Regions from separate parts of the Homo sapiens genome. Here regions 1, 2 and 3 are each linked to region 4. Evidence: promoter capture Hi-C in human tissues and cell types (Jung and others, 2019). All regions are on one chromosome and are shown on one strand. Each heading gives the region's core, a stretch centred on a gene start or on the middle of the fragment in contact. The rest is flanking DNA. Distances are from core to core; before and after follow the strand shown. Region 1 overlaps CREBBP (CREB binding lysine acetyltransferase). Region 2 holds the start of MMP25 (matrix metallopeptidase 25). Region 3 holds the start of IL32 (interleukin 32). Region 4 holds the start of ZSCAN32 (zinc finger and SCAN domain containing 32).

Region 1 (4,722 bases), core at 1,155-3,654, 470 kb before region 4:
TGACATTTTCCCCGGTGTTTCATTTCCATTAATCAAAAGACTGTTTAGTTGAACCATTGCTAAGAATAGTAAAATCTAATGGGGAAAATAATTCTACATGATTAAATCTGACTTTACTTTCCCATTTCTAGTTGTACTGTCTGCTATTGTTTGAAAATGTCTTAATTTGCCTTTCTAATATGCCTGTACTATATTGTATACAGTAGGTATATTTTCCAGTTGCACCTAATTCAACCTTTCGAATTTGCATAATCTGTGGTAAGGAGAAAAAGTAGTTGTGTAGTGGAGTTGTACAATTCTGTTGTAAAGCAAATCTTTTTATAATTCACAAGCTGCTTCTCCTCCCCCTAGTTTGGATTTTTCTTATTAAAACTGCACCACCTAAACATGTTTTAACTTTATGGTTAAAATAACCAGTGAAATAGAAAAATAAGTCACTGTTCTGTATGATAACATGTAGAGAAGGCTTGTACAACATTTAAATAAGGAGATTTGGGTATTTGATTACAAACTGAATGAGGACATTCAGGAGCTATAGAAATTTATCAGGTAATTAGGGTTTGCTTAGACAATTATAGACTCTACGAGTTTGACCCAGTTGCTTTGGATTAAAATATTTTGAGTATTTGTCACCTGATTAAAAGTAGAACCTTCTAACTGTGAGTCACAGTTGAAGGAAATGTCAGCTTTTTATACGGGGAGGCGGTCAGTGTGGTGCTGAGGAGGGAGCCCTGGCTCCTGCTCAGAGTAGACTGTGAGTCCCAGCTCCCAGCTCGGCAGCGCTGTGACTTGGGCTGGTGACATCACATTTGAGTTTTGCAGGGTGGGGTGTGTGTGTGTGTGTGTGTGTGTGTGTGTGTGTGAGTGAGAGAGAGAGAGAGAGAGAGATCTCTAAAAGGGGCTTTTTACCCTGCAGTATTCCATTTGTTTCTTTTCTTTCTCTTCTCTCTTCTTTCTTTCTTTTTTCTTTCTTTCTTTCTCTTTTCCTTCCTTCCTTCCTTCTTTTTTTCTCTTTCTTTCTTTTCCTTCCTTCCCCTTCCCCTTCCCCTCCCCTTCTTTACATTACTTTTCTTCTTTCCAATGGGGTCTTGCTTGCCCAAGCTGGTCTTGAACTCCCATCCTTCAGCAATCCTGCCTCGGCCTCCTGAGTAGCTGGAATTACAGGTGTGAGATGGAGCCACTGTGCCTGGCTCTACTTCTGCTTACTTTGATTATCTTGGTACATGGGGCTACTAGGGTGCCTGGCATATAGCAGGTTGAGGCAGCTGTTTTTATTGTTTAATTGTATGGGAAAATATTAGCCATCACCTACTTCTTGGGCCAGTGAGGACTAAGATGATGTAGCCTGACCCGGAATCAGGAGGCTTCTCACTGAATACATGGGAAGCTTCTGCCCCTGCCTGTTTGGCTTTCAGTGCCAGCTCTAGTGCAGTTTGGGAACCAGTTTGTAAGAAAACGAACTAAGATTCGAGAATCTTACAAAATGGGTAATCGTTTGACTCATTTTACTCCGTCTGTGTTTGCAGTTCAACTGTTTTTTATTGGAAAATTGAACTCTTAATTAAATGGAACTCTGTTTCTAGTTATTGCTTCAGAACAAGGGCTTGATTTAGATTAGGACTTAGAGAAAAGGGAAAAGTAAATGCAGAGAAATTATAAATATAGTATTTTATTGAAAACAGAGTTGGGAAGAAAATGGCCTTGGGATCACTGTCCAGTTTAGTCAGGTTGGTTGAAAGGAATACCAGTGAAACTCAATTGCCTCTCGGGCTCAGCTACACAGATCTTGAAAGGAACAGATTCAGCTCTGTGCTGTACTGTGTGACTTTTCTCCTCCTGCAGATTCTATAGTAGGAAATTCTTTTAATGGAGATTACTGTTTTTCTGTTCTCCTAGATTTGGTGTGATTTTTTTTTTTTATAAGTAAAAGTTACCCCGTGGTGGACAAAATTTTTCCCCGATTTGTGGATATCTTTACTTAAATCTGATTTACATATTCAGAACGTCACCTTTATTGAAAATAACAAAAAGACATAACATATTGATAGGTTTTCTGTGTCATTGTGGTTGTTCCTCTACTACTGTGGGAATCGGTTTTTGTTTGAAGAGCACACCTGCCCGTAGTTGAACTTCTGTTGAGAAGTCTCTGAGGGAATCATTTGAATGATGGCAAGAGAATCAAGTGTTTTGCTTTCACTGATGGCTTTCTCAGTCACTGAAACTTTAGGGGAGAACGGATTCTTTCCCAGGAGGAAGAGGGTGAATTGAGATGTTTCCTTGTTTGGGGATGCCTGTGTTCTCGGGATGCCCTCCAAGCCAGCGCTGTCCAGTGGTCGTTATTGGGAGGGCGGCTCTACGCTGTGTCTATATGACACAGTACTGGAACCACGAGCCACGTGTGGCTGTTGAGTACTTGAATTGTGATTAGTGTGACTTAGGAACTAAATTTTAAATGTTACCTGGTTTGAGTAAATGAAGATAGCCACATGTAGTTAGTCACTACGGTATTGGACAGCACAACTGTAAGTACATTTACTTATCCTCTTTGTCTAGAGTTTTCTTTAAGATACGTATCACCTAGATATTTATGACAAAGTTCCTTTAAAACGATCATCTTTTAAAGATGCAAGACTCCAAATTAAAAATGATGAAAGACTCCTTCAAAAATATTCACGGCTTAGGTCACACTGTTCAGGATTATTCACTAATTTAGAAAATATTTGTTATGCTGTGATGTAGGCCCTGGCGATCCAGTGGGGATGTGACAGGCCCCATCTCTGCCCTCATGGGTGGTGATGGATACTGGACAGGTAACTGCAGTCAGGTGTGACCTTGGAGGGGACATACTGTGCATTGACTGAGGCACCAGATGGGGACTGAGCCTGTTTTGAAGGGTATTGGAAGTCCCCGGGGGCTGTGACGTTAGCACTGACACCTGAGGGTGAATAGGAGATGGCAGATAGTACTGTTCCAGGCAGAGGGAACAGCACTCATAGCAGGGTGGAGGTCTGGCTCTTGTGACAGTTTTTGGGTTATGTTCACTGGGCTACCAGAATTTAGGAGGCCTCATGGTTTTGCTTCTGAGATGGTGGAGACTAAAGGTGTGGTTCTGCCCTGCGGGGGTTGGTCGGCCCGGGATCCAGTCTTGACTCCTACCACTTCATTCTTTTATTCAGCAAATATTTAAGCACATTTTACGTGTGGGGCACCCTGCTGGGCTGTGGTGATGACAGTAGTGGCAGAAGCTGCTTCTGTCCTCATGGAACTCTGAGTTGTGTGGTGTGGTGGGTGAGCAGTCCCGTGGTGCCCACCGTGGCCTATAGCATTTCACACTCAGCTCGATGTCTGACTGGAAGGAAGTGGATGCCTCAGGCTGGGTGGTCAGGGAGGCTTGTTGGAGGAAGGACACCAGAGCTCATTGAGGGTGAGTAGAGCATCAGCTTGGGCATCTGAAGGCGAGATAACATCACCAAGGGCCTTGAATGTCAGACCTAGGAGTCCAGGTTATTATTTTTTTTTAGGGCTTATAAAACAAAATTAAGCTTTAAAAAACCCGTGTCCAGAGTGATTGGGGGAGCTCCTGTGATTTATTTTCCAGAAGTCTAGATTAGCTTTTTCAAGGTGTGTTTTTTCATCCAAGTTCAGGTCTGTAGGGAGAGTAGACAATGCTTTCCCCTCCTGAGCCCCGTTTTTGGCAGGAAAAGGGCCCCATGAAAAGCAGCTTAAGAACTGGAACTAGTGTTCTTATTTAAGATGTTAGTAAATTTTTGTACAAACAATTTTCTTTTAAAAGTTTTTTTAAGTTCTTGTGAGTAGATAATATATTCATATGGTTCAGAATTCCAAAAAAGCAGAGTAATTGGTGAAAACTCTTCCTCCTGTCTGTTTCTGGGGTCACTGGTCATTCCCCTCCCCATAGGCAACCAGTGTTAGCTGTTTCTTACGTATTCTAGAGATGGACTGTGCGTAGCCAGGCAAATATGGTCTCTTCTTACTCTTTTTGCCCTAAGTAGCCCATTTTATGTAACTCTACTATCAGTGCCTTTCAGACTGATACATATCTCAGAGCTGTTGGAAATGTTAGTATTAGAAATGCAGGCTTTGTTCTATTTTTTTAAATTTATTTTTATTTATTTTGAGACAGGGTCTCACTCTGTCCGCCAGGCTGGTGTGCATTTATTTGATCACAGCTCACTGCAATGTCCACCTTCTGGGCTCAAGCAATCCCACCTCAGCCTCCCAAGTAGCTAGGATGACAGGTGCATGCCACTATGCCTGGCTAATTTTTTTTTTTTTTTTTTTTTTAGTAGAGATACGGGGTCTTCCTATGTTGCCTAGGCTGGTCTTGAGCTCCTGGGCTCAAGCAGTCCTTCAACCTCAGCCTCCCAAAGTTTAGGGATTACAGATGTGAGCCACTATGCTCGGCCCAGGCTTTCTTTTAATTAATTAAGTCTTCTTTTTTAACGGTAAAATGTTTTGGTGCTGCATTTAGATAAATAACACAAAACAATTTTAATGTTTTCTCTATGTTATATAAATAGGAATAATTGAAGTTTTCTTGTTTTTTGTTTGAGACGGAGTCTTGCTCTGTCACTTAAGCTGAAGTGCAGTGGTGAGATTATAGCTCACTCTAGCCTCAAACTCCTGGGCTCAAGCCATCCTCCCACTTCAGCCTCCGCAGTAGCTTGGACTACAGGCACGCACCACCATGCCCAGATAATT
Region 2 (4,507 bases), core at 1,321-3,820, 350 kb after region 4:
GGAAGCTTAAAACTGCAAGTCAAAGCCGGGCACGGTGGCTCATGCCTGTAATCCCAGCACTGTGGGAGGCCAAGGTGGGCTGATCGCTTGAGGCTAAGAGTTCGAGACCTGCTTGGCCAACATGGCAAAACCCTGTCTCTACTAAACATACAAAAAAATTAGCTGGGCATGGTGGCGGATGCCTGTAGTCCCAGCTACTCAGGAGGCTGAGGCAGGAGAATCACTTGAACCCGGGAGGCAGAGATTGCAATGAGCCGAGATTGCGCCACTGTACTGCAGCCTGGGCCACAGAGTGAGACTCTGTCTAAAAAAAAAAAAAAAAAAATTGCAAGTCATACCAAGTTCTGAATTGCTTCCCTTCTGAGAACACTTAGGTGGTTGCTAATCACCCTTGGAATCAACCCTAATCACCTTTCAGGGCCCTTGGCTGAGGCCTCTCGCCAGAGCTCTTCAATGCTCCTTTTGCTCCAGGCACACAAGCTTCTGCGTGCCGTGGGGTCTTTGCACTTGCCCGGGACACTCTTCTTCCACATCTTCCCATGGCTGGTTCCTCCTCTTTGTGGTCTCAGCTCATATGACACTTTTCAGAGGGACCTGCCCTAACCAGACCAGCCCCTCAATGCCAATAGCATTTTATTTTTTTCTAAACACTCACCGCCATCTGAAATTATCTTTCATATTTATGTTCTTGATCTGTCTCTCTCTCTCTCCCTCGAGAAAGTTAGCTCCATGAGAGCAGGAACCTTACCTACTTTATTTATCACTATACCATTGGAGCTGAAAGGGCGTGGCATCTAAGAGATGCTCAAAGTATATTTGGTTAGAGACTGGGTCTCCATCTGTTGCCCAGGTTGGAGTGCAACGGTGCAATCATAGCTCACTGCAGCCTTGAACTTCTGGGCTTAAGCAATTTTCCCATCTCAGCGTTCTGAGTAGCTGGGACCACAGGCCTATGCCACTACACTCAGCTAAATTTAAAAAAATCCTTAGAGGACTGGGCACGGTGGCTCACACCTGTAATCCCAGGACTTTGGGAGGCCAAGGCCGGCGGGTTACCTGAGGCCAGGAGTTCGAAACCAGCCTGATCAGCATGGAGAAACCCCGTCTCTACTAAAAATACAAAATTAGCCTGGTGTGATGGTGCGTGCCTGTAATCCCAGCTACTCAGGAGGCTGAGGCAGGAGAATCACTTGAACCTGGGAGGCAGAGGTTGCGGTGAGCCGAGATGGTACCATTGCACTCCAGCCTGGGCAAAAAGAGGGATACTCCGTCTCAAAAAAAAAAAAAAAAAATCCTTGGAGAGTGGGGGGGTCTCACTTTGTTGGCCAAGCTGGTCTCAAACTCCTGGCCTGAAGCAATCCTTGAGTCTCCGCCTCCCAAAACCCTGGGATTACCGGCATGAGCCACCAGGTTCTTGATAAATGCTTATGGAAAGATGAACGCCTGAGGCCCTCTGGGTTTGGGGCCTGAGATCAGCATCTTCACAGCTCCGTGTTCCAGGAGCACACTGAGGTCTAAAGGCTGTTGGGCGGTGGACAGGCTGGGTGCAGAGGCAGGGCTGGGGAGGGGTGGGGGCCACCTACCCATGCGGCCGGTCTCCGGCAGCCCCGCGAACCTCTGCATGACTTTGATGGCATCGCGCAACTTCTCAGGGCTCTGCAGCTGGGCCTGGGCAGGGTGGGGTGGCGGCAGGTAACCATAGCGAGTCAGCCAGTCCTAGGGCATCGGAGGGGGCAGGTGAAGCGGGCTGGGTGAAAAGTATGGGCTCTCTCTGCCCACCACCATCCTGGCAGCCCTGCCCCTCCCAGGCACCCAGAGCCCAGGGCCCCAGCCCCGGATGCCTGCCTGCTCCCCTCCATAGGTCCCCGCTTCAGTCCCGGGTTTGCCAGTCTTGTCTGGACTTCAGCTCCGCACCTCAGCTCCTTTCCAGAGCTCCAAATCCCAGCCCCAAACTTCCCGACAGACCCAAGAAGCCGGGAGCACAGACCCCATCCTCAGTCACTCTTTGGATATTGGAATCTGGCCCCTGCCTCCTCCGGACCCAGGAGTCCGGGCCCGGCTTCCCTCTCCCAATCTCTCTGCAGACCCCAGGAGCCTGCGGACCCCGCGCTCACCACGCCCAGGCTCACGTCCTGCGCCGAGGGCTTCGGGGCGCGCGCGGGCGGTGCCAGCAGCAGAAGCAGCAGCGCCAGAAGCCGGAGCCGCAGCCGCATGGTGCGCCCCAGCCCGGGCCGCCGGCGGGGTTCGAAGGGGGCCTGGCTGGGGCCGCCCCGGGGACCTGGGGGAGGAGATCCGGGCCTGGAGAGGGCGGGGGGCACCCGGCACCGAGTAGGGAGGGATCGGCCGGAGGGCTGGGATGTGTGTGGGGGTCCCGGGAAGTGCGCGGTGGAGTCAGCGGAGGGTCCCGGAGGGCCAGGGTCGCGCCGCTGGGTCGGGTGGGCCCGGGAATCCCAGGATGGTTGAGAGGGCGCGGGAGCGGCGGAGGTCTGGATGTGCCGCGGCGGCCTCTCGGGGTCCCGGGGCGCTGCGCCAGCGGCCCCTCCTCTCCGGGCGCGAGCGGAGGGCTGGGTGGGGCGGGCCGGGCCGGGCCGGGCGCACCCCGATATGCGGTAAGGGCGCGGCAAGGGAAATGGCCCAATCTTCGGACGTCCAGCGACAAGGGGCGGGCCAAGAGGTGGCCCCTGCCCGACCCAGAGACCCTCCTCCGACGCAGGACGCCCGGGCGGGGGCCGGGGGTCCACGGCTCTAACTCCCTCGTCCGCAAGTTTCTCTTCCCAGATCCCCGCTCCTGTGGGACTCCCCGGGGCAGGGCTCGCTTCTGCTTTCTCGAAGCCGCGCGGCCTGGGGGAGGGCGGCCCGGGCCTTCGGCTCAGCCAGCCCTCCCCATCCCTGTATCCCGCCCCTCTCCTTCCCCCCAGGACCCCGTGGGGCAGGTTGTCTGAGAGCCGGGGGGATTTCCGGGCAGCAGGAGGCTGGGAAGGAAGCCTCCTTCCCCGCGGGGTCCCGGCCCGCCCTCCGCCCCGCCAGCTCCAGCTGTGCGCGGTTGCAGCTGCCCGAGGGCCAATACTCAGTCCCTCAGCCCACGTGGGCTGCGCGCGGGGCTCGGCCTGGGCACGCGGGGGTTTGGGCCCCTCTAGATGCCGGGAGCAGCGGCTGCTCCGCGACTGCACCCCTCTCCCTAAGTGCCGGACATTTAAATGCTGCAGCCACTGCGCGGAAGCCACAGCGCCTGCCAGTGCCGGGAGCCGGGGACCGGGGAGTGAGTAGGCGGGGGAGATCCGGGAAGCCGAGACCTGGGGGTCTGCGAGCCGCCTCCTCCCGCGCCGAGAGCACCGGGCTAGGAGGCCGGACAGGTGGGGAAGGAACTGGAGGAAGCGGGCGGGAGGCTTCCTGGGGAGGGCGGGTGGGCGAGTGTGAGTTAAACTGCTCAGTCTCGGAGCAGTTCAGGGGCAGCCGCCGGAGCTGCTCACAAAATAAACAGCGAGCAGGATGCGGAGCTGGAGATGCAAAGGCAAACACTGCGATCCCGCGCCCGCTCGCTGGGGCCGCCAGAACAAAACACCAAGGACTGGGAGGCTCAACCAGAAGTTTACGTTCTCACAGTTCTGGAAACTGGAAGGCCAAGATCAAGGTGCCTGAGGGGCTAGTTTCTCCGGATGCCTCCTCCTGGGCAGGCAGATGGGCGTCCTCTTGCTGTTTCCCCACACGGCCGTCCCCCTGCGCTTGCACACCCCAGAAGTATCGTCCTCTTTTGTTTTGTTTTGTTTTGTTTTGTTTTGCTTTTTTTGAGACGGAGTCTCGCTCTGTCGCCCAGGCTGGAGTGCAGTGGCGCGATCTCGGCTCACTGCAAACTCCGCCTCCCTGGTTCACGCCATTCTCCTGCCTCAGCCTCCCGAGTAGCTGGGACTACAGGCGCCCGCCACCACGCCCGGCTAATTTTTTTGTATTTTAGTAGAGACGGGGTTTCACCGTGTTAGCCAGGATGGTCTCCATCTCCTGACCTCGTGATCTGCCGGCCTCGGCCTCCCAAAGTTCTGGGATTACAGGCGTGAGCCACCGCGCCTGGTCATTGACCTCTTGTAAGAAGTCAATCATCGGGGCCACCCTAAAAGCCTCATTTTAAGTTAGTCACTTTTTTATCAGCTCTATCTCTAACTATAATCACATTCTGAGGTACTGGGGGTTAGGGCTTTAACATACAAATTCTTCTTCTCTCTCTGGTTTGTTTTTTTTGTTTGTTTGGTTGGTTTTGGTTTTTTTGTTTGTTTGTTTGTTTTGAGCCAGGGTCTCGCTCTGTCTCCCAGGCTGGAGTGCAGCAGTAGCATGATCATAGCTCACCGCAGCCTGGAACTCCTAGGCTCAAGCAATCCTCCTGTCTCAGCCTGTCAAGTAGCTGGGACAACTGGCCCAAGCCACCATGCCCATGTTTTTTCTTTCTTTCTTTTTTTTTTTTCTTTTTCTTTTCTTTTGGTAGAGACGGGGCCTCCCTGTGTTGCTCAGGGCTTTC
Region 3 (3,554 bases), core at 1,055-3,554, 340 kb after region 4:
TCTGCACCCCACATCAGTCAGTCCTCAAGCCCAGTGAGTCCTCAGCTCCCACACACCCCGAACTGGGCCCAGCCAGGGGCCCGGGCCACGTCTGGCACCCCTGTTGTTTCCTCAAGGAGCCCTGGGGCTTGGATGCCTCCCTCAGTCTCCCCGGGCGTCCAGATCCCCCACCCGCCCACTCACTGCCACCCAGGTGCAAGCATTTGCCCACGGTAAGGGGTGAGGGAGCCTGTGGGTCCCTCTTCATCCTTCTCACCCTGAGCCCCACACAGGGTGGAGTGCCTGGGGGCGGGGACATGTGACCTGGTGCCTGAGGGGAAATCCACCCACCTGTCCACGTCCTGATTCTGCATTTTGCATTTTATCATAAAATCTTTCTATGGCCTGGTGCTGTGAAGAGAGGCAGAGTTGGCACCAAAGGGCCGGATCCTTGTCCCTCCAGGGTCCCAGGTGTCCCACAGTGTCCTCAGTGTCACACGCTGAGACCCAGGCCCCCAACCCCTGAGCAGAAGTAGGGAGGAGCATTACCATTCGGGCCTTCAGCTTCTTCATGTCATCAGAGAGGACCTGCGGAAATAACGGTGACACTCAGTCTCCATGTGTCACCTTAACCTTTCCTCCAGGATAATTTATACACACACACACACACACACACACACACACACACACACAGAGACACATGGCAGAGGTACAGGATAAGAGGAGACAGCAGTCCCAGGAGCCCCTCACAGCCTGGAAAGACCGGCCAGGGCTGTCCTCGAAACGACTCAGAAAGCGCTTCTCTCAGGAGCCGGCTCAGCTGGGCAGGCCCAAGAGCAGGGCCAGCATGGGCCTAGGTGACCCCTCCTCACAAGAGCAGGGCCTGCGTGGGCCTAGGTGACCCCTCCTCACAAGAGCAGGGCCTGCGTGGGCCTAGGTGACCCCTCCTCACAAGAGCAGGGCCTGCGTGGGCCTAGGTGACCCCTCCTCACAAGAGCAGGGCCTGCGTGGGCCTAGGTGACCCCTCCTCACAAGAGCAGGGCCTGCGTGGGCCGGGGTGTCCTCCCTGCACACACACACCCCCCCATGTACACACACGGGAGGATGGACACTGTCCTGGAGCAGGCTGGCTCAGCTGGGTTTCCCACAACCACTATGGTCCCAGGTGAGAGTTGGCCAAGGAAAAAATGTTTAGGGACATGACAATTGAGAAGGTAACAGCAGCCATTCCTCTCTGATGAGCTGATTAATATTTGGGGTGCCAGGTAGGTCCACCCTACAACCTGCCACTCTTCCCGACTGCCAACATGCAGACCCACAGGTCCCGGGCCATTCCTGCCTGCAGACACGTGGCTGCATCCACAGAGGCCAGAGGCACCCCACAGAATCCCCGCTGAGCCCCCACGTCAAGGGCCTAGTCTCGGGGGTGACATGCCTGGTTTCCCCCACTATAGAGTGGTGACAGTCACCCACAGAGTGCGCAGGGCCTGGGGACATATTCTGGGCAGGGCAGCTGTCTGCACACTTTCAGGCAGCGATGGTCCCATCCCGCTAGCCTGATTTCCCAGGAACCAGGGTGAAAGCAGCACCGTGCCGACATGCGGGAGCCATGTGTCCTCCGGGTCACTGTCCTGAACCTGAGCCAGGCCACATCATGGAAACCCCTATTGTCACAGGCCGAAGAGCTCCCTGGAGGGTGTGGTGGGCCTAGCATTTGCGGTGGGGCAGTGGTAGAGGATGGGAGGTCGGAGGGAACCCAGGAAAGGAGGAAGAGACACCAGGACCCACACAGGCCTTGCTCTTGGGCCCACCCAGCTGAGCCGGCCTCTGAGAGAAGCATTCTCCGAGTCGTTTCCAGCAGAGCCCTGCCCCACCCCTGCCCCGGGCTTTCCGGGCTGTGAAGGGCTCCTGGGACAGGTGCTCCCTCTCATCCACACCCCTGCCGTTCTCCAGCGCCCCCGACACATATGACCTCCAGCGCCTCCACTGACACTCTCACCCCATCACTATCCTCCTGCCGCTGGGTGCCCCTGACTGAGCCCTGACACACAGGCACCTCGGGAAATACTGAGGGCACCCGCACCCTTACGGTCTGTTTTCAGACATGCCCACAAAAGCACACGCAGCCTCTCACTCACCTTCGGGAAGCACATGGCGGCCAAAAGTTCAAGGAGCCAAGGCCTGCTGGCGAGGAACAGGTGTGAGGAAAAGAAAGTGTCTCAGAGAAGCACCCTCCTCCCCAGAGGGTCCTCACCTTCGGGGACCCCAACTCCCCACCTGAGATGACCCAGCTCCACTGAGACAGTCACCTTCTGCACGCAGTCTTCCTGGCACAAATACTCAGCTGGTTTTATGGGGAAAGTGGGGGGTAGTGGGCGGAGCCTCTCTCAGGGCAGGAGGCCTTGCTGAGTGCGTGAAAAACAGACAGAGACAGAGACAGAGACAGAGACAGACAGAGATGGAGACTTACCCGAGAGAGACAGAGGTCTGGGGTCCCTGGGAGGAATGAGGGTCCGTCCCTGGCTGGGCCCCTGCTCCCTCTGAGCTGGGGTGGGAGTCTCTGAGCCCAGGAATGGGCTGCTTTCCCCACCCCACCAGCCTGAGAGTGGGGAGGGGCAGAGGGAAAGTCCAGACTCGGGACAGCTGGCTGGGGAAACTCCCTGAGTACAGGAAGGTGACGTCAGCCAAGTGGGATCCAAGGACAAAGGAATTTGGACCCTGTCCTTGCATGAGGTGTGCCCCGGCTCCAGAGGCCAGAGAAACTTCTGGATCAGAAGGAGGCAGGAACTGCCGGACCTAAGAGGGGCGCCGTGAGGGCAGGGGCCTGTGCACGTTGGAGGGGTGGCTAGTGGTGATGTAGATCTACCTGTGGGACAAGATAGGACCCTCTGCAGGGTGGAAGGCATCCTGCCGGCTGTCTGAGCTTGGCTGACCAGGTCCTTCTGACCCTTCTGGGCCAAGGCAAGGCCATCTGGGGCCGAAGGTCACTGGTCTCAGCAATCTTGGGGCTCCCCTACGGGCTCTTCTAGCTCCACGGGTTCTGACCCTCCAGCCTGGCTGGGCCTCCCACCTCCTCCTCACGGCCCCCAGCCCCCTTCCCCCAGCTGAGCACAACCACGCCCTTGCCTTTGGGATGGTTTCCTGGGGCCAAACTAAGGAAGTACCACGACAAGGGGCCCTAAGTCGAAGACGTCTCTTCCCTCACGATCTGCAGGCTGGAGGTCCAAGGTCAATGTGGGCAGCGTGGGGTCCTTCTGAGGGCCCGGAGCTGGGATTCTGTTCAGGTTTCTCCTGCCCTTGTAGATGGCCATCTTCATCTTCATCACGTTCTGCCTGGGTGTGACTGTCCCCCTTTCCCCTTTCCAAAGGACACCAGTCATATTGAAATAGGGTCCACCCTAGGCCGGGCGCAGTGGGTCACGCCTGTAATCCCAACACTTTGGGAGGCCGAGGCGGGCAGATCACCTAAGGTCAGGAGTTCTAGACCAGCCTGGCCAACATGGTGAAACCTTGTCTCTACTAAAAATACAAAAATTAGCCTTGCGTGGTGGCCGGCACCTGTATTCCCAGCTACT
Region 4 (4,675 bases), core at 1,468-3,967:
GGGCCCAAGAAGAGTTCAAGACCAGCCTGGGCAATGTGGAGAAACCCTGTCTCTACAAAAGTACAAAAATTAGCCACGCATGGTGGCATGTACCTGCAGTCCCAGCTACTTGAGAGGCTGAGGTGTGAGGAACACTTGAGCTGGACATGGAGGTTGCAGCGAGCTGAGATCGTGCCACTGCCCTCCAGCCTCAGCAACACAGTGAGACCCAGTCTCAAAAAAAAAAAAAAAAATCAAAGACAAAAAGCTAGGCCAGGTGTGGTGGCTCACGCCTGTAATCCCAGCACTTTGAGAGGCCAAGGCGGGAGGATCACTTGAGGTCAGGAGTTCGAGACTAGCCTGGCCAACATAGTGAAACCCCCTCTCTACTAAAAAGTACAAAAATTAGCTGGGCGTGGTGGCAGGCACCTGTAAACCCAGCTACTCAGGAGGCTGAGACCTGAGAATCGCTTGAACCTGGGGTGCAGAGGTTGCAGTGGGCTGAAATGGCACCACTGCACTCCAGCTTGGGAAACACAGCAAGACTCCATCTCAAAAAAAAAAAAAAAAAAAAAAAAAAAAAAAAAAAAAGACTATAAGCTAAACACTGGAAAGACAATAAGCTAGAACTTCCAATGAAATGAAGTTCCCCAAAGTCCAACTGCTACCCAACAGGGTGACCCTATCTGCTAAGAATTCTGCTAGTAGGAAAACTAAGTTGGGTGGGGGAAGAGCTGACAGAAGGGATTTAAGAACCTTACAATTACTTCTGGTGACACAAGGTGCATAAAGGAATGGTAAGAACCTTGGTCCTCTGTTGCCTCACTGGGTATCAGTAGTTGGATTTTCTAAAAACCTGTTAATAACTCAGGATAGGTTCCCAGATAGAGGCTGGAAGCAACTTCTGAAGCCATCCAGTCCACTTCTGAGACTTAAATAGGGAGAGATCCAGATACCAAACATTACCCAGATGAAAAAGAAATCGGCCGGGCACGGTGGCTCACACCTGTAGTCCCAGCACTTTGGGAGGCCGAGGCGGGCGGATCACGAGGTCAGGAGATCGAGACCATCCTGGCTAACACGGTGAAACCCTGTCTCTACTAAAAATACAAAAAATTAGCCGGGCGCGGTGGCGGGCGCCTGTAGTCCCAGCTACTCGGGAGGCTGAGGCAGGAGAATGGCGTGAACCCGGGAGGCGGAGCTTGCAGTGAGCCGAGATAGCGCCACTGCACTCGGGCCTGGGCGAAAGAGCAAGATTCCGTCTCAAAAAAAGAAAAAAAAAAAAAAAGAAAAGAAAAAGAAATCCCCAGGATGATGGGAGAGGACCCTCCTTACCCACTGCTTTGGTTTCTTGGATGCTCTGTGAAAATCTTCCACGAGGGTCACAATCTCCTTGCTGCTCATTGGACATCGATGCCTGACCCGAGCCTGGATCTCCGGGGGCAGGATGGTCAGGAACTGCTCCATCACCAGAAGCTCCAAAATCTGCTCCTTGGTGTGCAGCTCGGGTTGCAACCACTGACGGCAGAGCTGTCGGAGCTGGGAGAGAGCCTCTTGGGGTCCAGACACCTCTTGATAACAAAAGCGTCTGAAGCTCTGGCGGCAGAGCTCAGGATCTGGGCAGTTTTTTTGCAGAGGAGGGCCCCGTTTCTCTTCTAGTTTGGCTATTATGTGTCTCTCTTGCTTGGAGGAAGCTTCAGTGTTGGAGCTTAAAGTTATCTCCATTTTAGCTGCCATTTTGGGCGTCAGGAGACAACTCTCTCCTTGTAAACGGGTTAAGCCTTTGGGATCATGACCCTGGAGAAGTCTCTGAATACTAGAAAGATTCTAGAAACGAAGGTTCTCTGAGGATGTTAGGGGGAACGGGATGCAGAGACAAAGCCTCACTTGCTAGCCTTTACTAGCCAAACTCAAGACAACGCGGTCCCTGGGAGTGGGAAGAGTTTTGTCTTCTTGTCAGTTTTTTGCAGTCTTGCAAAGGAGAAAAGTCATAACGTCCTAAAAGGACTCTGGGGAAAAAATACTTCTTTTATTTCAGTAGCAAGCACACAGGTCTCGGATTTAATGAGCAATACGCTCTAACCGGCGGGTGGAGCGGAATCCCTAGGAAAAGTTCAAGCTGTCGCAGGTAGCTTGCCCCAACTCTCCCGCATCCTGGCGGAAACCGACCGGGTGCATGTCGCCGGGTGCTAAACGGTAGAGCTAAGCGAGGCCACAGCGCCAGCCGGGGGTGTGAGGTAGCGAACAGCCTCCTGCACGCGAGCAAAGCGGCTGCTCGCTGCCGAGGCGCCGCAGGCCCAGTGGCTCCGGCCTCCAGGGCGGCCCCGCGGCCCAGCCAGCCCCAGGCCTGGCGAAGCTGCCGCAACCCGATGCGCAGCTGAACTCCACGCCCGGTGTGAGCTCGGACTGGCGACTGCGACACCGGTACCCCGAACAGCCCGGCGCCCCGCACCCACCTGCAGCCGACTCACCTCTCCGGGAACCCAAGACCGAGGGACTTAGGACCCGACACCGGCGAGCACGGGCTGGGGGCGGGGCCGATGCCACTCGCTGCGGAGACGCCCACTAGCTGCTGAGGACAACTACTGACAGGGCCCGCCTCCTGCCAAGGGCATTCTCTACCGTCTATTGGTTGCTGCGCCTGTCAATACCGTCGCAGTGCATCCCGGGAGCTGCAGTCCGGCAATTCGGCTTGCGGGCCTGCGCAGGGGCGTGCGTAATGGGCGGAGCGAATCGCGCCGCTGACTTCCGGCCCGGAGGCTGAGGGAGTTTGTGGAGTCGCGAGTGCTGGTGTCCGGTGAGTTCTCCGCTTCCTTGCGGCCGGCGGGATTAGCCGCTGGGCCCTGCGACGGCCGAGGAGCCCCTCCCCGCTGGGAGTCTTCTCCGAGGCGTTCGGGTCCGGCCCCGATGGGCGTCTCCTTGGGACAGGCAGCCTCCCTCAGGCCGGGCGTCCCCAGACGCGCCGCGATCACCGTGCCCCGCTCCCACCGTGCGGATCACCCCGAGCCTGAGCGCCGGCGCCCCGGGACCCCCTGGCCTTGACCCTGCTCATCTCGTCCCTGTCTCGCCCACTCCCTACTCATCCACAGTGCCTAGCCCTGGCACCGAGTGCGTTCTGAGTACTCAATAAATAGTTAACTAAGTGAAAAACCTATCAACCTGGCTCCCCATCCTCATGCTACATTTTTTTCCGAGTGTTTGGGCCATCGCTAGAGTGAAGTAAAATTTTCAGAGAACAGCATTTTAAAATTTAACGATGAGTGGGAGGTAAGGGGTCAAAAGGGGTCAAGAAGGGTGCAGGTTCCGCCTTCTGCATGAAGTTAGAAGAGCTTTTATTAAATTCTTCTTCAGCCAGGTAAGGCACAGGATGAACATAATGAAGGCAAGGGGTGCTGGTTCTAGTCCTGGCCTTGCTGCCTAGGAGCTGTGCTGTGTGATGCTTTAGGCAAGATACTTCATCGCTCTCAGTTTCTTTTTGGCTAGAAAGCAGTGCTAACAATAATAATGCCCTTGATTTCTCTATCTCTAGAAGCACTGAAATGTAAAGAGAATTTAAGTGAAGGCAGTTCAAGTTCCTTGAGAAAAGGGAACCCAAATCCATTTTTAAAATATAAAAAAATTTCTTTAATTTTTAAAAAACATTTACCATCATAACCATTTTTAAGTGTACAGCTCAGTAGTCCTGAGTATATTCATCTTGTTGTGCATGCTGGATCCATTTTAATACCACATGGTGAGGGTGTATCAGCCCCTGGAGAAAATGTAAATTACGATCTGCTTTAATCTGTGTTTTAAGTAGATAAAAACCAACACAAACTCATTAAAAAAGACTGCCTTCGCGGGTGCAGTGGCTCACACCTGTAATCCCAGCACTTTGGGAGGCCAAGGTGGGAGGATCACTTGAGCACAGGAGTTTGAGACCAGCCTGGGCAACATAGTGAAACTCCACCTCTACAAAAAATACAAAAGTTAGCTTCTATTTAAAATTATTTTTAAGGTCGGGCATGGTGGCTTATACTTGTAATCCTAACACTTTGGGAGGTTGAGGTGGGAGGATTGCTTGAGTTCAGGAGTTTGAGACCAGCCTGGGCAACAGAGTGAGACTCCATCTCTAAAGATAAAAAAACAAATAAAATTATTTTTAAAAGTTATTTATTAATTTTAAATTATATAAAACTATTTTTAAAATTAACTCTTAAAAAAATATTGCCTTACATAAACTGGCCTTGGAGATCCAAACATGTTGTCAAGACTTGAGTATATTGTCCTCTTGTAAACAGGCTCACTCCTGTGATGGAAGAGTGGAGTAGAGAGTGGGACATAGTTGGAGACAACTCTGATCTTACATTTGCCCAATTTACCAATTCCTAGAAAATGAAGAGCTTTCCCTACCTCTCATGTAAAATCTGAGAAAAGAATTTTGATAGGCCTAGCTGTGTGTCATATGCCCACTTCTGGGGAAGTGGGTATTGTAATTAATATCCCCACCAGAACCAATGAGAGGGACTTTTTCTTTTTTTGAGACAGTCTCGCTCTTGTTGCCCAGGCTGGAGTGCAATGGCGTGATCACAGCTCACTGCAACCTCCGCCTCCCGGGTTCAAGCGATTCTCCTGCCTCAGCCTCCCGAGTAGCTGCGACTACAGGTGCGTGCCACCATGCCCAGCTAATTTTTTTGTATTTTTAGTAGAGACGGAG

Evidence for each region. Contacts are between HindIII fragments. The study calls those that stand out against the background at their distance.
Region 1: a fragment that was not itself captured here is called in contact with the fragment with the promoter of ZSCAN32 in region 4 in 2 of the 25 tissues and cell types used here (dorsolateral prefrontal cortex and spleen).
Region 2: a contact is called between the fragment with the promoter of MMP25 here and the fragment with the promoter of ZSCAN32 in region 4, in 1 of the 25 tissues and cell types used here (spleen).
Region 3: a contact is called between the fragment with the promoter of IL32 here and the fragment with the promoter of ZSCAN32 in region 4, in 3 of the 25 tissues and cell types used here (IMR-90 fibroblasts, small bowel and spleen).

What each region holds. Positions count from the first base shown.
Region 1 is chr16:3,867,341-3,872,062 of GRCh38, reverse strand. All of the region lies in intron 1 of CREBBP (CREB binding lysine acetyltransferase), which reads left to right. Among named protein-coding and RNA genes, the nearest start is that of CREBBP, 11 kb to the left of the region's middle. RefSeq lists an enhancer at 1-24 and a silencer at 561-855. The HindIII fragment of the contact is 4,672 bases long and covers 69-4,722 here.
Region 2 is chr16:3,044,624-3,049,130 of GRCh38, reverse strand. MMP25 (matrix metallopeptidase 25) reads right to left here and starts at 2,570. Exons shown (of 10, transcript NM_022468.5): 1 at 2,115-2,570; 2 at 1,584-1,716. The coding sequence starts at 2,213. RefSeq lists enhancers at 1,110-1,689, 3,538-3,617 and silencers at 2,568-2,857, 2,898-3,097. The HindIII fragment of the contact is 14,233 bases long and covers 244-4,507 here.
Region 3 is chr16:3,064,390-3,067,943 of GRCh38, reverse strand. It overlaps IL32 (interleukin 32), which reads right to left and starts at 2,304. Exons shown (of 7, transcript NM_001376923.1): 1 at 2,257-2,304; 2 at 2,118-2,160; 3 at 529-567; 4 at 331-390. The coding sequence starts at 2,132. RefSeq lists enhancers at 1-162, 2,501-2,810. The HindIII fragment of the contact is 16,762 bases long and covers 1-3,554 here.
Region 4 is chr16:3,399,046-3,403,720 of GRCh38, reverse strand. ZSCAN32 (zinc finger and SCAN domain containing 32) reads left to right here and starts at 2,717. Exons shown (of 7, transcript NM_001284527.2): 1 at 2,717-2,776. ZNF174 (zinc finger protein 174) reads right to left here and starts at 2,506. Exons shown (of 3, transcript NM_003450.3): 1 at 1,315-2,506. The coding sequence starts at 1,716. LOC105371059 (a long non-coding RNA gene) reads right to left here. Exons shown (of 4, transcript XR_007064949.1): 3 at 4,195-4,675; 4 at 4,052-4,090. RefSeq lists silencers at 2,160-2,379, 2,930-3,079 and an enhancer at 2,457-2,956. The HindIII fragment of the contact is 10,964 bases long and covers 595-4,675 here.